Linked DNA regions of Homo sapiens: region 1 is linked to region 2. Evidence: promoter capture Hi-C in human tissues and cell types (Jung and others, 2019). All regions are on one chromosome and are shown on one strand. The core of a region is centred on a gene start or on the middle of the fragment in contact, and the rest is flanking DNA. Distances in the headings are between cores, read along the strand shown. Region 1 has its middle 400 kb from the start of MGC4859. Region 2 holds the start of NXPH1 (neurexophilin 1).

Evidence for each region. The method cuts DNA at HindIII sites, captures the fragments that hold promoters and counts their contacts. A contact is called where the count stands out against the background at its distance.
Region 1: a fragment that was not itself captured here is called in contact with the fragment with the promoter of NXPH1 in region 2 in 1 of the 25 tissues and cell types used here (spleen).

What each region holds. Positions count from the first base shown.
Region 1 is chr7:10,372,586-10,378,660 of GRCh38, reverse strand. No RefSeq gene overlaps it. Among named protein-coding and RNA genes, the nearest start is that of MGC4859, 400 kb to the left of the region's middle. The HindIII fragment of the contact is 4,586 bases long and covers 1,157-5,742 here.
Region 2 is chr7:8,429,663-8,435,732 of GRCh38, reverse strand. NXPH1 (neurexophilin 1) reads right to left here and starts at 2,124. Exons shown (of 3, transcript NM_152745.3): 1 at 978-2,124; 2 at 1-129. The coding sequence starts at 19. RefSeq lists enhancers at 1-464, 465-1,012, 1,013-1,560. The HindIII fragment of the contact is 8,604 bases long and covers 1-4,159 here.

The sequences.
Region 1 (6,075 bases), core at 2,200-4,699, 1.9 Mb before region 2:
ACAACATGCAGGTTTGATACATAGGTATACACGTGCCATGTTGGTTTGCTGCACCCATCTACTCATCATTTACATTAGGTATTTCTCCTAATGCTATCCCTCCCCCAGCCCCCACCCCCCGACAGGCCCCAGTGTGTGATATTCCACGCCCTGTGTCCAAGCGATCTCATTGTTCAATTCCCACCTATGAGTGAGAACATGCAGTGTTTTGTTTTCTATCCTTGTGATAGTTTGCTGAGAATGATGATTTCCAGCTTCATCCATGTCCCTGTAAAGGACATGAACTCATCCTTTTTTATGGCTGCATAGTATTCCATGGTGTATATGTGCCACATTTTCTTAATCCAGTCTATCATTGATGGACATTCGGGTTGGTTCCAAGTCTTTGCTATTGTGAATAGTGTCACAATAAACATACGTATGCATGTGTCTTTATCGTAGTAGGATTTATAATCCTTTGGATATATACCCAGTAATAGGATTGCTGGGTCAAATGGTAATTCTAGTTCTAGATGCTTGAGGAATCACCACACTGTCTTCCACAATGGTTGAACCAATTTACACTCCCACCAACAGTATAAAAGTGTTCCTTTTCCTCCACTTCCTCTGCAGCAGCATCTGTTGTTTCCTGACTTTTTAATGATTGCCATTCTAACAGGTGTAAGATGGTGTCTCATTGTGGTTTTGATTTGCATTTCTCTGATGACCAGTGATGATGAACATTTTTTCATGTGTCTTTTGGCTGCATAGATGTCTTCTTTTGAGAAGTGTCTGTTCAAATCCTTTTCCCACTGTTTGATGGGGTTGTTTGTTTTTTTCTTGTAAATTTGTTTGAGTTCCTTGTAGATTCTGGATATTAGCCCTTTGTCAGATGGGTAGATTGCAACAATTTTCTCCCATTCTATAGGTTGACTATTCACCCTGATGGTAGTTTCTTTTGCTGTGCAGAAGCTGTTTAGTTTAATTAGATCCCATTTGTCTATTTTGGCTTTTGTTGCCATTGCTTTTGGTGTTTTAGTCACAAACTCTTTGTCCATGCCTATGTCCTGAATGGTATTGCCTAGGTTTTCTTCCAGGGTTTTTATGGTTTTAGTCTAACATTTAAGTCTTTAATCAATCTTGAATTAATTTTTGTATAAGGTGTAAGGAAGGGATCCAGTTTCAGCTTTCTACATATGGCTCGCCAGTTGTCCCAGCACCATTCATTAAATAGGGAATCCTTTCTCCATTTCTTGTTTTTGTCAGGTTTGTCAAAAATCAGATGGTTGTAGATGTGTGGCATTATTTCTGAGGCCTCTGGTCTGTTCCATTGGTCTGTATATTTGTTTTGGTACCAGTACCATGCTGTTTTGGTTACTGTAGCCTTGTAGTATATTTTGAAGTCAGGTAGCATTATGCCTCCAGCTTTGTTCTTTTTGCTTAGGATTGTCTTGGCAATGAGGGCTCCTTTTTGATTCCATATAAACATTAGTTTTTTCCAATTCTGTGAAGAAAGTCATTGGTAGCTTGATGGGGATGGCATTGAATCTATAAATTACTTTGGGCAGTATGGCCATTTTCCAATATTGATTCTTCCTATCTATGAGCATGGAATATTCTTCCATTTGTTTGGGGCCTCTTTTATTTCATTGAGCAGTGGTTTGTTGTTCTCCTTGAAGACGTCCTTCACATCCCTTGTAAGTTGGATTCCTAGGTATCTTATTCTCTTAGTAGCAATTGTGAATGGGAGTTCACTCATGATTTGGCTCTCTGTTTGTCTGTTAATGGGGTATAGGAATCCTTGTGATTTTTGCACATTGATTTTGTATCTTGAGACTTTGCTGAAGTTGCTTATCAGCTTAAGGAGATTTGGGGCTGAGACGATGGGGTTTTCTAAATATATAATCATGTCATTTGCAAACAGGGACAATTTGACTTCCTCATTTCCTAATTGAATACCTTTTATTTCTTTCTCTTGCCTGATTGCCCTGGCCAGAACTTCCAACACTATCTTGAATAGGAGTGGTGAGAGAGGACATCCTTGTCTTTTGCCAGTTTGCAAAGGGAATGCTTCCCGTTATTGCCCATTCAGTATGATAGTGGCTGTGGGTTTGTCGTAAATAGCTCTTATTATTTTGAGATATGTTCCATCAATACCTAGTTTATTGAGAGTTTTTAGCATGAAGGGGTGTTGATTTTTTTTGAAGGCCTTTTCTGCATCTATTGAGATAATCATGTGGTTTTTATCATTGGTTCTGTTTATGTGATGGATTATGTTTATTGATTTGTGCATGTTGAACCAGCTTTGCATCCCAGGGATGAAGCCAACTTGATCGTGGTGGATAAGGTTTTTGATGTGCTGCTGGATTTGGTTTGCCAGTATTTTCTTTAGGATTTTTGCATCGATGTTCATCAGGGATATTGGTCTAAAATTCTCTTTCTCTTTGTTTGTTATTTCTCTGCCAGTCTTTGGTATCAGGATGATGTTGGCCTCATAAAATGAGTTAGGGAGGATTCCCTCTTTTTCTATGGATTGGAATAGTTTCAGAAGGAATGGTACCAGCTCCTCTTTGTACCTCTGGTAGAATTCGGCTATGAATCCATCTGGTCCTGGACTTTTTTTGGTTGGTAGGCTATTGTTGCCTCAATTTTAGAGACTGTTATTGGTCTATTCAGAGATTAAACTTCTTCCTGGTTTAGTCCTGGGAGAGTGTAAGTGTCCAGGAATTTATCCATTTCTTCTAGAATTTTCTAGTTTATTTGTGTAGAGATGTTTATAGTATATTCTAATGATAGTGTGTATTTCTGTGAGATCAGTGGTGATATCCCCTATATCATTTTTTATTGCATCTATTTGATTCTTCTCTCTTTTCTTCTTTATTAGTCTTGCTAGCAGTCTATCAATTTTGTTGATCTTTTCAAAAAACCAGCTCCTGGATTCTTCGATTTTTTGAAGGGTTTTTTGTTTCTCTATCTCTTTCAGTTCTGCTCTGATCTTAGTTATTTCTTGCCTTCTGCTAGCTTTTGAATTTGTTTGCTCCTTCTTCTCTAGTTCTTTTAATTGTGATGTTAGGGTGTCAATTTTAGATCTTTCCTGTTTTCTCTTGTGGGTATTCAGTGCTATTAATTTCCCACTACACACTGCTTTAAATGTGTCCCAGAGATTCTGGTATGTTGTGTCTTTGTTCTCATTGGTTTCAAAGAACATCTCTATTTCTGCCTTCATTTTGTTATTTACCCAGTAGCCATTTGGGAGCAAGTTGTTCAGTTTCCATGTAGTTGTGCAGTTTTGAGTGAGTTTCTTAATCCTCAGTTCTAATTTGATTGTACTGTGGTCTGAGAGACAATTTGTTGTGATTTCTGTTCTTTTACATTTGCTGAGAGGTGCTTTACTTCCAATTATGTGGTCAATTTTACAATTAGCGTGATGTGGTGCTGAGAAGAATGTATATTCTGTTGATTTAGGGTGGAGAGTTCTGTAGATGTCTATTAGGTCTGCTTGGTGCAGAGCTGAATTCAGGTCCTGGATATCTTTGTTAACCTTCTATCTCGTTGATCTGTCTAATATTGACAGTGGGGTGTTAAAGTCTCCCATAATTATTGTGTGGGAGTCTAAGTCTCTTTGTAAGTCTCTAAGAACTTGCTTTATGAATCTGGGTGCTCCTGTATTGGGTGCATATATATTTAGGATAGTTAGTTCTTCTTGCTGAATTGATCCCTTTACCAGTATGTAATGGCCTTCTTTGTCTCTTTTGATCTCTGTTGGTTTAAAGTCTGTTTTATCAGAGACTAGGATGGCAATCCCTGCTTTTTTTTGCTTTCCATTTGCTTGGTAGATCTTCCTCCATCCCTTTATTTTAAGCCTATGTGCGTCTTTGCAAGTGCGCTGGGTCTCCTGAATACAGCACACTGATGGGTCTTGACTCTTTATCCAATTTGCCAGTCTGTGTCTTTTAATTGGGGCATTTTAGCCCATTTCCGTTTAAGGTTAATATTGTTATTTGTGAATGTGATCCTGTCATTATGATATTCGCTGGTTGTTTTGCCCGTTAATTGATGCAGTTTCTTCCTAGCATCTATGGTCTTTACAATTTGGCATGTTTTTGCAGTGGTTGGTACCGGTTGTTTCTTTCCATGTTTAGTGCTTCCTTCAGGAGCTCTTGTAAGGCAGGCCTGGTGATGACAAAATCTCTCAGCTTTTGCTTATCTGTACAGGATTTTATTTCTCCTTCACTTATGAAGCTTAGTTTGGCTGGATATGAAATTCTGGGTTAAAAATTCTTTTCTTTAAGAATGTTGAATATTGGGCCACACTCTCTTCTGGCTTGTAGGGTTTCTGCCAAGAGATCCGCTGTTAGTCTGATGGGCTTCCCTTTGTGGGTAACTTGACATTTCTTGCTGGCTGCCCTTAACATTTTTTCCTTCATTTCAACCTTGGTGAATCTGACAATTATGTGTCTTGAGGTTGCTCTTCTCCAGGAGTATCTTTGTGGTGTTCTCTGTATTTTCTGAATTTGAATGTTGGCATGCCTTGCTAAGTTGGGGAAGTTCTCCTTGGTAATATCCTGCAAAGTGTTTTCCAACTTGGTTCCATTCTCCCCATCACTTTCAGGTACACCAATCAAGCATAGATTTGGTCTTTTCACATAGTCCCATATTTCTTGGAGGCTTTGTTCATTTCTTTTTACTCTTTTTTCTCTATACTTCTCTTCTTGTTTTATTTCATTAATTTGATCTTCAATCACTGATACCTTCTTCCACTTGATCAAATCGGCTACTGAAGCTTGTGCATGCGTCATGAAGTTCTTGTGCTGTGGTTTTCAGCTCCATCAGGTCATTTAAGGTCTTCTCTACACTGTTTATTCTAGTTAGCCATTCATTTAATCTTTTTTTAAAGGTTTTTAGCTTCCTTGTGATGGGTTTTAATATCCTCCTTTATCTTGGAGAAGTTTGTTATTACTGACATTCTGAAGCCTACTTCTGTCAGCTCATCAAAGTCATTCTCTGTCCAGCTTTGTTCCATTGCTGGCGAGGTGCTGTGATCCTTTGGAGGAGAAGAGGCACTCTGATTTTTAGAATTTTCAGCTTTTCTGCTCTGGTTTCTCCCCATCTTTGTTGTTTTATCTGCCTTTGGTCTTAGACGTTGGTGACCTACAGATGGGGTTTTGGTGTAGATGACCTTTTTGTTGATGTTGATGCTATTTCTTTCCGTTTGTTAGTTTTCCTTCTATCAGTCAGGTCCCTCGGCTGCAGGTCTGTTGGATTTTGCTGGAGTTCCACTCTAGACCCTGTTTGCCTGGGTATCACCAGTGGAGGCTGCAGAACAGCAAATATTGCTGTCTGATCTTTCCTCTGGAAGTTTGTCCCGGAGGGGTAGCTGCCTATATGAGGTGTCTGTCGGCCACTACTGGGAGGGTTCTCTCAGTTAGGCTACATGGGGGTCAGGGACCCACTTGAGGAGGCAGTCTCTTCGTTCTCAGAGCTCAAACGTCATGCTGGGAGAACCACTTCTCTCTTCAGAGCCGTCAGACAGGGATGTTTAAGCCTGCAGAAGTTGTCTGCTGCCTTTTGTTCAGCTATGCCCTGCCCTCAGAGGTGGAGTCTAGAGGTAGTAGGCCTTGTTGAGCTGCAGTGGGCTCCACCCAGTTTGAGCTTCCCTGGCTGCTTTGTTTACCTACTCAAATCTCAACAATGGCAGATGCCCCTTCTCCAGCCAGGCTGCCACCTCGCAGATTGATCTCAGACTGCTGCTTTAGCAGTGAGCAAAGCTCTGTGGGCATGGGACCCACCGAGCCAGGCATGGGAGAGAATCACCTTGTCTGCTGGTTGCTGAGACCTTTGGAAAAGCACAGTATTTGAGCAGGGAGTATCCCATTTTTCCAGGTAGTCTGTCACAGCTTCCCTTGGCTAGGAAAGGGAAATCCCTCGACCCCTTGCACTTCCCAGGTGAAGCGACGCCCCTCCCTACTTCAGCTTGCCCTCCTTGGGCTTCACCCACTGTCCAACCAGTCCCAATGAGATGAACCAGGTACCTCAGTTGGAAATGCAGACATCACCCATCTTCTGCGTCAATCATGCTGGGAGCTGCAGACTGGA
Region 2 (6,070 bases), core at 875-3,374:
ACCAGCACGCAGCCTGCATTCTCCCGCGTCTCAAACTTCCTTGGCGGTGCCTTCTTTGAGTCTTTGTTCCTTCAGAAACATAGATCCACCTGACATCCACTTTACAGAGCAAGGAGCGCTCTCAGCAGCCTAGATGCAAATAAAATTAGACATCCCATGACTACGCGGGCAAGGTTAGGCTTGACAATCAAGCGGGGAAAGGGGGTCGTAGCGGGGAGTGGGGGACCAAAAAAAAAAGGGAGGGAGGGTACGAAAAATTGAAAAGCGAGTAAATCCAGCGCCTGAGACCAGCAAGCGCGCGGTCCGCAGCTGGGGAGGCGGGCGGGCGGACGAGAGGGAGGGTGAGGGGCTCCTTGCCCCCTGCGCTCCTCGGGTGCGAGTTCCCAGGCGGCGGAGCACACTGAGCCGCGTGCAGGCTGGTTCGGAGCCCAGGCTTCTCCGGCAGCGAGACCTGCCCTTGTGTTGGGTGGCCCGGCGGCTCGGACTAAAGGCGGCGGCTGGTTCTTCGCCAGCCCTGGCAGTGCTCACACACGTACACACCAGCAGAGAGAGATAGAGGGGAAAGATAAAGGGAGAGAGAGAGATTGAGCGAGGGGGGCGCGGTGAGAGGAAGAGGTAGGTAGAACTGACCGCGATTAGGTGCTAGGTACCTCAACACGTTCGGTGAAGTGGGGGTGGGGAAAGAGAATGCAATTTGCATACAGGAAAGCAGGGATCAGTTTACCCATTCGAACCCCTGGCGCACACAGAGATACCCACGAATGCTCACAGTCACATCTCTAGCACTACTTTTTTCGAGCCAAAGGGTACAGCCGGTCGCTAACTTCTAGAGAAGAAGCCTCCTCCGAGCTGTGAGGGTCACCTGCCAGGCTTGTTCTCTTTCCTAACCAGCGCCCCTCCCTGCCGTCCCTTCCTCGTGCCCACCACCCCGCTCCCAGGTGTACCCTCCGGGAACAGCGGAGGCAAAGGGTACGTACCGCACAGGACTTGGGGCGAATCCTGCGAGAAGGGACCGCTCTGGGCAGGCTCCATGGAGAAGCTACTCGGGCCTGGCGTCTCCAGCGCCCCGGACGTGCCCTCCCAGGCGCTCCGTCTCCATGCTCGAGCGCAGACGGGTCCGGCTGCCTCGTCCAGCTTTGGCGGAGTCGCCGTCCCAGTGCCCGGGTCGCGCTCAGGATTGGTTCGCGGGAGCCAAGGCTTGGCACAGTTGGATTCACGGTGCAGGAAACTTAAGAGGCAAGAGAGGGAGGGAGCAGTAGAGGAGGAAAGAGAGGAAGACAGAAAGGGAGGGAGAGCAAGAGGGAGGGAGAGAGGGGAATGCGCCGGGCTGCTGCACCGGACGGACTGGGACTGCCAGCGCTGGCACCCGGACGAACAGTCCAGGACTCTCGGCTTCCCACAGCTGCCTGAGGATGGTGGAAATGACTTAAGGGGAGGAGACTGAGCAAGTCCTCTGGACTTGAAGTGGAGAGATAAGACACTGGCCTTTCGGAAGAAAAGAGAACCACACGGCAGACGAGAGCAGTCCGAGTTTCTGAGGGAGGGGTGGGGTGGCGAGAATCTGGAGCCTGCGGCACACGGAGCAGCTGTACCTCTACCCGCGACGCTGGGAAGCCCAGGAGCCGGTCCCCAGTGGAGTCCCGGGCGCTGTCCCTGGTGCTGCCCGGCCACCCGGGGACGCTCTGGAGCGCTTTGGGTTTCCGGCGGCCGCGGTGGTCGTGGTTTCTCCGCAGAGCCGCGGCTTGGCACGCCTACCTTCCTGACACGGACAATTACTTTGGCACGTGGGTGAATGATTCCTCAAAGACTAATTAGTACCCTGTGTAAACAGATCCGGCTCTCAGGCTCTCGCGGGCTGGGCCCACAGGGACAAGTGGCTCCCGCGGTGTCTTCGGTGGCCGCAGCGCCCCCTTCCCGGGGGGCGTAGGGAAGATCGCAAAGCCCAGGGGAGTGGCGGGAAGAGCAGCCGGGAGTCGCGTAGGGCGGGGAAGGGCGCGGGAGGGTGCAGGGCGCCCCTGCCGGCCTCGAGCGCCGACGCCGGGCGCCTCCGACCTGTGGCTGCCGGGCCGGAGGCGGGGGAGCCGCAGACTGCCAGCCATTCAGCTCGAGACAGCCGAGAGGACTGGGCGACCTTGGCCTCTGGACTCCTCGCCGCCGGCTGGGCTGAGCGTGAAGGGGGAGGAGGAGGACGGGGGATGCTTCGAGCCGTCACCACCTCCCTCGCTACTGACACCTCCCACTCAACCAGCGTCTCCCAGACTCGGCCTCTGTGCTCCGACTCTGGCTGTCTCTGTCTTTCTCAGTCTCTCCCTTACTGTCCCTATTTCTCAGTATCTTTCTCACTCCCTCTCTCTCTCTGTCTCCTTCTTCTGTCATTCTTGTGGTCTGCGTCTCTGTCCCTCAGCATCTTTCTGCCTTTTTCTGCCTTTCTGTGTGTCTCACTCAGGATTTCTGACTCTAGGTCTCTGTATCTCTGTGCCTCTACCGTGTCCCTGCCATTCCCCCTCAAACCCTGTTTTGTTTTTTGTTTTTTTTCCTCCACCCTTCCAGTGCACCACCACCAGAGCAGTTTCACCAGTCTCGGGAGACAGCCAGGACCAGCTTCTTCTGGTGCTGGTGGGGTTGCCAGTGCTCCTTGAGCTTGCCCAAATTCAGGGCACAAATCGGAACCCGGAAGAGGGTATCTCTTCCCCAACCTTGCCCATTGCATCTCCAAGCCTGCCCTTCACCAGAGCCTCTCCTGGGGTGATGCACATATCCATATCAATCTGTAGGAATTGTATGGAAATTTATCTCAGGAACCTGAGTTAGTGACATCAAAATCGAATTGTGATATTTAATGAGTCTGGAATGTCCTTTCCTCAAGTGTGGCTGTGGACACTCTGGCAGGTCTGGGCCTAGATACAATGTACACTCTAGACAATAGGTCCCAGGCTGAATTCCCCTGGATGATGGAGACCACCCCTCAAACAAGGCAGTGACAATCAGCAGAGCCACCCAGTCCTGCAGCAGAGGCAAGAGGAGCCCCACTGAGACCTTCCCCTGGAATCAGATCTCCAAAGACCTCCAAATTAGATCCCCACTGTAGAACATACCTACCAGCACTTTGAGGTCTACACTCTCCCTTCCAGCTAAAAATAACTCTTTAAAGAGCAAGCTCTTCTAATCTTAAAAGTTGTACTCTGCTGCTGTGACCTCCTGGAATTCATTGGGGCATATGCAGAATAAAGCAGTGAAGCACACCTTCTAACTGTGTCTCTGAAAATCCACTTCAGAAAAAACGCACATGTACATATAGCATAATTACAATGTTTTCTTGACTATTTTCACTTACCAGCTATTTCATTTTCTTAAAAACTTTAAACTTTAAAGAAGAAAAATTAAAGTATTGGGGCACCCGTATCTGAGGCCAAATGGTCAAAGCAGGGGCAAAAAAAGCTTTGTCTAATTCCATCCTCTAGGATTCATAAGGCTATCCTAAAATTGATTCCTATTTGTACAGGAGCTCCCAGGCCTCCCAGACTGGAGTGTAGAGCTGGAGCAAATGTTGCCTGCCTCTATCTGGATTCCCAGCTACAATGCTGTCAGAGCTGAACTTCTGTCTGACCTTTGGGAAAATGAGAAAGAATCCGGCTAGCTTTGGAATATACCAAGTTCTTTTCTAAACCTTACTTTAAAAACATTCTGCTTCTAGTGCCATTTAGCCTTAAAAAAATACTGCTTGTGAAATAGAAAGATGATCAGAGACCTTAAAATGTCTGTCTGAATGGGACTGATTATTTAAGAAAAGCACCACAGGCACCTAGTAATGGGAACAGGTTTGACACTTTGTTCTATGACACAGGATGCCAAAGAGCTTTTTCTGTTAATGACCTGAGATCTTCTGCCCAGACATTCAACCTTCGCTGGATCCTATGAGATACTTGGCCTGTGATATAAAACAGTGGCGGATTGTCATTTTTCATATTTCACAGGGGTCTTCATCTCCTATAATACTCAACCAGAAAAGGATACCGAGCCACCAAGTAACACAGAAAAATGTATCGTTTCTGCTAAACCACTCCAGTTTTAATAATATAATATTGGGGGAGAAGTGGACAAGAATGGTTCATTCACCCTCCTTTTTTCCTATCATTTGCTTTATAAAGAACAATGGAGCAATAAAAGCATGATTTTCTTACATTCTTCTGTTTCAAGTAGTATCCTACTCTAAAATGCACTCTTAGAATACATGAACAGTCAGCTTCATTGAGTGAGAACAAAAGTGTGATTACCTTAAGAAGTATAGTGTTTGTACCAATTTTTACTGACTTTACTCATGCTGAAAATTCTTTCAGAAATACTGTTTCCAAACTTTGTGTGCAATGCAACTTAATACAGATATAAACTTAGTATGAATGATAACCACTGTAAAACACAACCCTCTGCATCTGCTTTTCCCCATGTCTACCTGGTCCAACCTGAAATGAACAGTACGAGAAATAATATAGATCTTTGTCTCTAAGAAATATATTTTTAAAGGGTTAAAATGGGCTGCATCAAAAGAAAATAGTGAAATTAACTTTCCTGAAAGTTAAAACCAGAAGAAATTAAACTAGAATCTTCTGACATATACTGATAGTTCTGTTAAATGTAATTATCTATTTTGGTTTGGTTCATTTGTATGATTCTCTTTTTTGGCAGGGGAGAGGGAAGGGAGAGGTTTGAATTATCTTGGGGCTGGAGAGAAGAGAGACATAAAGAGAGAGGCTGAGTTCTACAAAATTTTGTCCTAAAATGAACCTGTCTTAAACACCTTAATATCATCATATTCTACCCAAAATCCAAGTAAAAACAGAGAACTATTGTTACAAAGCATCCAGCTGTGGTCTTGCTTAAGCTTCAGGCCAAATTACATCACTTTGTACATAGTACTGCATTGTACCTATTTTTTTTCCTAATAGTGATAGAAAACTTACAAAGACTGTATCACCCTCCTGCCCTTAATTCAGTATAACCTGGCATTTGCATGTTGTGTAGTCCTGGACAAGTGCCTAAATATTCACCTGGCCTCGGTACCCTCCTCTGTATAATGCAGAAGTAAGGTTACATGATGTTTTAAATGATTTCTAATTCTAAAGTTCCTTTATTTTACCTTTTATGATTAAATGCAGGTTTAAAAAATTTACCTGCTTCCCAAAAAACAATTGTGTACTGCATTATGATTTTCAAAGATATTAACAGTTTGAAAAAACATTCTTTTTTGGTGCATTTCAAAGATTTTTTAGTCAAGTGTGTTTATAGGTTTGAGCCAAAGATTTTTTCTGCATTTCTTCCCTGCTCCACCCTCATAACCTTTCTTCTAGGTCAGAGGTTGACTGTATTGAATTCATCATATTACTTTTTCATGTAAATTGTTCTGTACATGTTTTTAATGTCACTGATTTATGAGAATCTACACTCAAAGTGGCATCCTTATTATACTTATGAATATCGGTTAGAAAAGATCCAAAGCTATTTCCACTACTTTTGCAGAATTCTTTTTTTTTTTTTTTTTTTTTTTTTTGAGACGGAGTCTCGCTCTGTCGCCCAGGCTGGAGTGCAGTGGCGCGATCTGGGCTCACTGCAAGCTCCGCCTTCCAGGTTCATGCCGTTCTCCTGCCTCAGCCTCCCGAGTAACTGGGACTACAGGAGCCCGCCGCCACGCCTGGCTAATTTTTTGTATTTTTAATAGAGACGGGGTTTCACCATATTAGCCAGGATGGTCTCAGTCTCCTGATCTCGTGATCTGCCCCTCTTGGCCTCCCAGTGTGCTGGGATTACAGGCATGAGCCAACGCGCCTGGCCTTTAGCAGAATTCTTAAATGTCACTCAGGACTACTAAAAAAGCCCCTGGCCTCTCCACTCCCCCAACATATTTTGCTAGTGGAAGGAAGGATTATTTGCATAGTGATTTTTACCAGCCTGGAATATTTGGTATTTGAATGTGGTAGAACTCGGTTAATAACTATGAGGCATGTGTGCTAAATTACCTTTACAATAATGCTTTAATAACAAGGTCACTGGACTAGAGAGGAAAAATAGCCGTCAA